2 separate regions of the Homo sapiens genome follow, and region 1 is linked to region 2. The links are contacts of gene promoters, found by promoter capture Hi-C in blood cells and fetal thymus (Javierre and others, 2016). All regions are on one chromosome and are shown on one strand. The core of a region is centred on a gene start or on the middle of the fragment in contact, and the rest is flanking DNA. Distances in the headings are between cores, read along the strand shown.

Evidence for each region. Contacts are between HindIII fragments. The CHiCAGO score rates a contact against its expected background, and 5 or more counts as called.
Region 1: a contact is called between a fragment that was not itself captured here and the fragment with the promoter of SEMA4D in region 2, in 1 of 17 cell types (total B cells). The highest score is 6.6, in total B cells.

What each region holds. Positions count from the first base shown.
Region 1 is chr9:90,781,602-90,785,944 of GRCh38, forward strand. No RefSeq gene overlaps it. Among named protein-coding and RNA genes, the nearest start is that of SYK, 18 kb to the right of the region's middle. The HindIII fragment of the contact is 5,045 bases long and covers 1-4,343 here.
Region 2 is chr9:89,496,137-89,500,216 of GRCh38, forward strand. SEMA4D (semaphorin 4D) reads right to left here and starts at 1,977. Exons shown (of 16, transcript NM_001371194.2): 1 at 1,783-1,977. RefSeq lists silencers at 1,297-1,446, 1,877-2,066. The HindIII fragment of the contact is 2,547 bases long and covers 1-2,396 here.

The sequences.
Region 1 (4,343 bases), core at 702-3,201, 1.3 Mb after region 2:
AAAACAAGTCGGGGCTGGAATTCAGTAACGGGTGTTACAGTTTTCCCTTGAAACAATTTTTCTCTGATTCTCTAGCCCTCCTTTTCTACTAAAGAGAAATTATAGTAAGACCAATTTGTGTGCAGAATAAGTTTTTGGCTTATTACACTTGGCTTGATTATTCACATAAAGCGCAGCAGGAATTACTTGGTTTGAAATGCTTGTTCTTTGGTGCCATAAAGAAATAGCACTTGAACATAAATTTAATTTATTTAGTAAGGCCACTTTTACTTCCTGCAGAAAGGGTACACTCGCCAGCAGTTTTGCCATGAGAGTACACTGAACAAAGGAGACAGGGTCATTTATAACCTGACGTGTCCACCCTACTGTTGTGTCCAGTTTCCATTGGCTGGAACAAGAGCTCGCATTCTGTATTTGTCCTGATTGGCTAGCAACTTAGAACTTTTTAAAAGAGGCAAAGGTAGAGGGGAACAAAGGAAGGAGGAAGTAACTAGTGGAAGGCTGAGAAAGGTAAAAACACTTTTAAATAAGGAAGAGGAACAGGCTATGACCTAATGCTTGCTTGGACCAGTATAAGCATGCCAGGGCAAATATTTAGGCTAAATTGTGGGAGCTAGGAACATAAATTGTATATTGATTTTTTTATTATGGCTAGCAGATATTTAAGAATGTTAGCACAGGTCTTTGAATAAATTTTGCTTCTAAGAGAAGTTACTATTTATTCCTAATTAGACGGGGAGGAAAGTCTTTGAAGAGGAACCTCTACTTTACTTTTTACAGTTGGCCATAGAGACTCTTTTCAAGTTGACTTTGCTGGAGCTTCACCTAATAATGTTATTCTAGTCAAAGCCTTGGTATAATAACCAGCACCTGCAATTGTGTCCTGTTTCAAAAGAAAGGGCTCTTATTAAACATGCCTTTACATATCACATATTTATCAGTTTACTGTTGATTGCCTATCTGCCTGCTAAACTGTTTGCTTCTGCAAAATAGAGACCTTGCCTGTCCTGCACCCCCAGAGCTTAGGCCTGCATAATGCTCAGTAGACATTGCATATATAATAGATGTTGGAAGAAGATGCAGTTGGCAGAGAGATGTAAGGACAATTTCTCATTGTTTTGTCAACATAAAGTATGTATGTTTTATATTGGAAAGCTGAGATCTTGAAAAAACTGTATACAAAAATTTTTGCAGGTATGTCTCTGTTTCTCCATATTGAGCTTCCACTTTTGATGATTGTAGAAATGTGCTGTAGAATGGATTAGACCATGTTTTTTTGTTTGTTTGTTTGTTTGTTTTGAGATGGAGTTTCGCTCTTGTTGCCCAGGCTAGCGTGCAATGGCACAGTCTCCACTCACCACAACCTCCACCTCCTGGGTTCAAGCGATTCTCCTGCCTCAGCCTCCCGAGTAGCTGGGATTACAGATATGTACCACCACACCCGGCTAATTTTGTATTTTTAGTAGAGACGAGATTTCTCTATGTTGGTCAGGCTGGTCTCAAACTCTTGACCTCAGGTGATCTGCCCACCTCAGCCTCCCAAAGTGCTGAGATTACAGGTGTGAGCCACTGCACCCAGCCAATTACACAGTGTTTTAAAGACAAATAAATATGTGAATTTTGTATTAAAGTTCAGCTGCTCTTCACCTAAGAAATATTCATCAAGTAAGAAGTATCTGGCTTGGGTAATTGTTAACTAAAGAATCATGAGATTCATAAATTTGGAGAGGAGAGTGTTATTTCTTATAAAGGCTTGCATCCAGCAGGCTGCCCACTGTGCAGGCTGGGAAGCATAGCTTCTGGTAGAAACCAAAAGCAGGCACTTTGAAAGAGGGAAAGGTGAGACAGAAATTTGGGCTGAATGGGCTAGCTAAGTATACATATTCAATAGTTATAGGAAGGGCTGAGAATAATTATGAAGGGGGTGCACACATTCATAGCAAGCAAACATCCATGTTACATTCATCTCATATTCATTTGGGGTGAAGACTTACATTTAATTGCATTATAATTTCACTCTGTATGTCACAAAGTGAAAGCAAGGACACAGGGGCATGTTGTCTGCAGCCTGTGAATACCTGCCAGAGCCAGTCTACGGCCAGTGGTCTTTTATCAGGAAGGAATGCCAGTCAGTTGTTGTGTAAATCAGAGGTGAAGCGAGTCTTTCAAAAGAGCTGGTTTCTGTCTGTTAGAGAAGGAAGATTGATGGCAGTAAGGGAGGTGGCATAACAAGGCGTGTCCCACCTCCTGTGTGCCTGGCATGGCTGGCAACTCAGTTTTTAAGGCTTCTCTGAGGCTCCTTGGACAAAGAGGGAGTCCATTCAGTTAGTTAGGGGACTTAGAATTTTATTTTTATTTCTCAGAATTTATCTAGGAAAGTTAGATGGTAGATCGTAAAGGTGCAGAATGTCATGTTAATTTGGCTTGCTATCGAGATGTATCAGAGTACAACAATAACAGTGTTATCAGCTGTATACTAAAAACATCCTTGGTCAGCAATATCTCAGACATTTTCCAAGGACAAAAGTATTAAATTTCATAAAGAAATAGCACGCTTTCAAATAACACTCCCAGGGCTTGACACGTGTATAAGAAAATCTAATTCCCAGGCACATTTCCCAGTAAGGCCATGAAAATAGCCGCGGAATGTGAAATATACACGTGACTGCCATCCTAATTTGGATGTTTCTTTAACACCCACAAGAAGGATGATAACTTCTCTCCCCCTAGCTCCTATTACGCCACTCCAATATGCACCCTGGACCTCAAAGATCATTTCTCTTTCCTGCATCCAGATAAAAGGTCACGATTCCTGGTGCCTGGTGTGCTCTGGACCACAGTGTATTTCCCAAGGTAGTCACGACCCCTTTAATGGACCACAGTGTATTTCCCAAGGTAGTCACGACCCCTTTAATGGCAGACTCTGCCTGCAGACTGCTGGTGCTGAGAGGGTGCTGGTGCTTGTGCACATAGCAAGAAGTGAAATAGAAATGACTGAGTTTGTTTTGTGCAGCATCACCACTGTTCTCGTAAAGAATGAACTATATAAGCACATAAGAACTACAAAGTGCAAATTGTGTAATTTTGGTGATTCCGCATACGAGTCCAATGTTTTTATGTTTACATTTAAAACTGGCATAACAAATTCTATGTAAAGATAAATGGTAAAGTCCGTATTAATAATTTATAATTTCTATTTTTATTTAGTTAGAATGACATTCAATAGCAAATTTAAAAAAACACTGACATCTTGAAAGAGACAACAGAAGAGAAAAAAGGTTTTATATTTTAATACCTTTAATGGCCATTTTATTTTGCTTTTTGAACCAGGATCCATTTTTTATTTTGTACTGGGCCCCACAGATTATGAAGTTGGCCCTAGGCACAACCTCACACCACTACCTGTTCTGGTTAGCTATTACTAGGTAAGCTATGTAACATATTACCCCAAAACCTGGTGCCTTGAAACAACAATCATTCTTAAATATCTCACGATTTTGTGACTCAGAAGCTCAGGCGGAGCTCAGCTAGGTGATTCTTCTGCTTCACATGGCATTAACTAGGCACTCAGCTGGCTTTCAGGCTGTTAACACAGCCTTGGCAAAGATTGGGGAAGACTGGGCTCAGCTTTGCACCTCCAACTCTGCCCCACCCTTTGGCCTCTCCAGCAATCTTTGGAGTTCTTACATGGCAGTTCAGGGTTCCAAGAGACCAAGACCTAAGCTGTCCATCCTCTAAAAGGCTAGGCTTAAAATAAAAATGCCGTCACTTCTGCCACACTCTCTTGGTCAAAGCAGTAATAGGGCAGCCCAGATGCAAGAGGGAGAGTCTATTACACATCAGGAAACCAAGGCCCAGAGAGGCTCAGTAACTTGCACAAAGTCACACAGCTAGTAGGTTATAAACTTGGGAGTTGAACCAAATCTGGCTCCACGGTCAGTGCTGTAGGCCACTTTGCCATGCTGGTAATAGTAGTCTCCAAACACCTAAACTGTGTGACAATAAAGGACAAAGTCTTAACTTCAGAAAGCAGCTTTAACCCACACACACAAAGAGAGAGAGAGAGATGTCTTAGGAAGTAAAACGTGTGAAAGAACTTTATAAATATTGGAGTTCTCCAAAACTGTAACTTAGAGATTCTAAAACCTCTTCTATCCTAGAGACAGGACCCCGGAGCAAAATTGCTGGATGTACCTCTGCCCCCAGGGATGGAGCAAACCAGTCCCAGAGCAAAGCTGACATCTGGAGGGGACTTGTGCACCAGTGATGATGCACACACTGAGATGCTGAGTGCTATCCATCCCACTCTCAAAATAGAAGCGTGAATCCCCCAACATGGTGCC
Region 2 (4,080 bases), core at 727-3,226:
CATGGTCGCTGGTCTTGCACTCTAAACCTCAGCCCAGGACCCCAGGCACTCAGGGGGGTCTGTGCAAGGCTGCATTTTCAACAGACTCTGGGTGTGCTTCTCAGGAGGTGGGCCCCCTCCCATGGAGTCCCTCCCTTGTGCTGTGCTGCAAGACCTTGGGCTGGCATGGCAGCTGGGGCTCTGCATCCCCACGGTGGCCTTTTGCCTGTCTGCACTCTGAAATACAGCCACTGAGTTCCACCGTCTACCAACTCCTAAGCGGCCCACCCTCCTGGGACCCCAGGGCTGCTCCTGGCACCAGTGATGTGTTTCTATTTCTTTGTTTGACTCGCTGAGTGTACCACGTACACTCTTCTCAGTCTGAAGGTCTGGCCTTATGGGAGGGCAGTCTTTGCTCACAGAAACAGGCCAGTGCATCCCTCATCTTCCCACCCCAGCCTCCCTGGTGGGTATGCTGAGCCCGCCTGCTTTCTTCTTCTGGCTGACGACTACCAAGACATGATATACGCAGACACCAACTGTCAAAATGACAATCAGGGCATTATCATCTCTACCAGAATCCTGCCCCTGCACTGGCCAGAGCTGCCTGTTTCTGGGACACAGTAAACATTCCCAAATAACCTCGCCTGGGCAGCCAGCAGGCAGGCCCCAGGCCTAGGACACATATGAGGTGACAGGCCACTGGTGTCACGTCACCCCCAGGAAAGGAAACTTCCGTTCCGTGGCGCCTGGTGGATTTGAAAAGACTCAGAACAGCAGGGTGAGATGCTTGGCCCCAGGCCCCACGTCCAGCTTGGCCTTCGGGGGCCTGGCCACCCACGAGCCTGGGATGTGCTCAACACAGAGTGAGGTTTTCAAAACAAAAGCAAAGCAACTTCATGTGGAAAACCTTCCGGAAAGCAGGACCCAGCCCTCGACACCAGGCCTCATTTGACGCAAACTGCCCACTTACAGACTCCCATTCACCCACTCTCCCACCTACCCCCCAAAATACTAAGCCAGAAAATAGAGGACAACCACGAGTTCAACTCTCCTTTACACGTTTTTACTGGCATAACCCCAGTAGAGCCAGCCCCTTGCAGCTCACTAGGCGGCTGCAACAGGTGCAGCCCAAGCTAAGGCTTGTGGTTCTCCTGGGCTGTTCTAGAATAATGCAACCAAAACCCGAAAGGAAACCGAGGCCTGCAGCACTCACTGCCAAGGCGGCGACCTGACCACTGCGGCCCAACCTGCCCCACCTGTCTGAGTGCGCGGCGCCGGGTCCAGTGCACAGGGTCCGCGGCCTCCGCGACCAAAATAGAAGCCCGCGGGGGCCCGGCCAGAGCCCGGCTGGCCGGAGTGGGGCCTGACCTGGCGGGGCCGGACTGGGCGGGCCGGGGCGCGACGGGGCCTGGCCGAGCGCACCGCCCCCTCCCTGGCCCGGGTATGCAGCGCGCCCCCGCTCCCCCGCGCCCAGAGGAGCCACCTGCGCGCAGGGACTGGGGAGGCAACCGGGAAGGGGAGAAGGCCGGGGAGGGATAGCAGAGAGGTCCAGGGGGTCGGAGGGGTCCGGGTAGGTGTCTCTGGGAGGCGTCCCAGGAGGGGCCCCGGGGGGATCCAGGAAGGAGTCCAGGGGTCCGGGGATCCCAGAAGGAGGCTCCTGCAGGGGTTCGGGGAGGGCCCCGAGGGTCCGGTGAGGAGCCTAGGGGTGTGGAGTGGGGGCTCCGCGGAGGGTCCAGGCCGCCCCCAGCGCACCTGCCCGGCCCCGCGCGCCCTCCCTCCCGCGCCAGCCCGGCCGCTTACCTGCAGCGCGCGTCCTGCCCGCGGCGGCTCCCGGCCGGGCGAGTTCGGGCGCCAGGAATGGCGGCGGCGGCGGCGGCGGCAGCGGCGGGAGGCGGCCGGGCCGGGGAGGGGGTGGCGGGGAGGCCCGGCGGCGGCAGCGGCGGCTGGGATGCTGCGGCGCGCGAGAGCGCTGAGGCCGGCGCGGGGACGGAGTGCGCGGGGCGGGCGCGCAGGCCCCTCCTCCGCTCCCCCTCCCTTCCCGCCTCCTCCCCTTTCCCTTCCCCTTCCTCTCCCCCTTCTTCTCTTCCCTCCTATGGCCCCGCCCCTTTCTTCCTCCTTCCTCCTCCCTCCTCCTCGCCCCTGCTCACCTCCCTCCTTTCCCTCCCCCAACCTTTCTTTTCCTCCCTTCTCTTTTTCCTCCTCTTTCTTCACCTTCGCAACACTCTTCCACCTCTCTCCCCTTCTCCCCACTTTTGCTCCCCACTCCTTCCTCCTCACCTCCCATCTCTCTTGCCTCCCCGCCAGGCCCAGAGGGTTGTCCCTCAGCCCTGGGTTGGTCTCTGCTGAGTCAAGCACCCGTTCCCAGGACCAAGAGGTGCCCTGTCACCCTCTTCCTCACCAGCTCTCAATAGACAAGCTTGCCCCTTCTGGGGTCCTGGATGAACCCCACCCTTTCCAGGCCTCCCCCAAATCCCCCAGTTTTTTTTCACCCCCAGACCCTGGGCCAGCTCTTCTGAGAACCTGACCTGCAGTGTGCGTGAGGCACGTGGCACCCAGAACACTTGGCTGCTGACTTTGGGCAAGAATATTTCACACCAGGCTGCTCCCATTCCCCAGGGGAGGGGCTGGCACCACCTGGAGTCTTGGTTTCCCTGAACCCCCGTGCTAGCCTTTTGCCAAACGTTCATCATTTTCCACTCTGTATGGCAAATGGTCCTCCTGTGAGGCTGCTGGTGAGACTTGTTTGTGACTAGCCCATGGGTTTGGGGATCTGGGGGCCCTCAGAGATGGTGCTGCTCCATCCAGACCTCTTCCCTCTGCCCCCAGGAGAGGTGACAGGGCTCGCACAGTGACTGGCCAGGCTGGGAGGCCTATTGAGGAACACAGTCCTGAGAAGGGGACACAGTTTCTTACGGAACCAGCTAAGATTTCCCCTAAATGTGAGGAGTTGGGGAGCCCCTCTCCAGGCCAGGTGATACCTCCCTGGACTACAGACTGCTGTTGAGGGGCAGGGGCCCTGAGGCTGTTTTCCTGCTGAGCACTGGCTCTGAGAGCCAGAGTTTACAAATGAAGCCAGTCCCAGGCCCAACAGTCACAGAGTTAAAGGCCCAACAGTCTCAGAGTTCCGTTCTAGGGCCTCCTGTGGTTTCTGTGGTTCAGTGCCGGAGCTCTGAGAATAGGGCTTCGGCCCAGCAAAGGCTAAGATGGCAAAGCTGGTGTCAAGCAGGGTGGGGTGGAGCACGCACCCCCTCCTCCCTCTACGGCATGGCAGCCACCACCCTCTTGCTGAAGAATCCAGACCTGGAATCTGATAGACTCCCTTGACTCACAGCTCTGCAGTTTCCAAATAACCTCAGGCCTCAGCAAACCTCTGTACCCTGCAACATGAGGACAGTGTGGTCGTCCTGGAGGGTTTGGGGAGCACGGAGAGAGAATGGCAGGTAAAGCCCACTGCACCGTGTGCTCGGGTTCAGTGCTGGTGACTATTACAGGAAAAACTAGAGAAGTCTTTTCCAAGCTCTTTTCCAATTGTAGGGGTCCATGAATCCATGTTCCACATCCCATTTGGATTGAAACATAATGGGAACGGATTAGGACAGAACTGGTTTAACAGCATTCTATACCCAAGGAGGGATGCACGCTTAGGATCTACACATGCAAGCATTGCACTGATTGGGGTGGGGTGGGGGGACTCTCTTTTATTCCTCACTAGTCAGACACATCTAGAATACCATGCCCTTGCTTGGTGTCTAAGGCAGCCAGCAGTATCCCGTGGGAGGGGAGTTGACCCACCGGGAGTCTTCAGCCTAGAAAATCAATGTGTGGAGCACAAGACAGAAGAACCCCAATATGTGCAAAACTGTCCCGGGAAGAAGGATTACTCTGTGGTGTTATGAAGGGCAGAATGAGGACAGATGGGTGGAAATTAGATGAGAAAGTGGATTCCTGCCTATCGTGGGCGCTTTCTGACAGACCTCACTGTGGAAGAGCCGGCTGCCCCTACAGGAGCGTGCCCTTCACAGCCAGCGTCTAGACAGGCCTGGGGCCACCTTGGGAACACACTGCAGGGAGGGGACCAGCAGCAGAGGGGTATGCTTC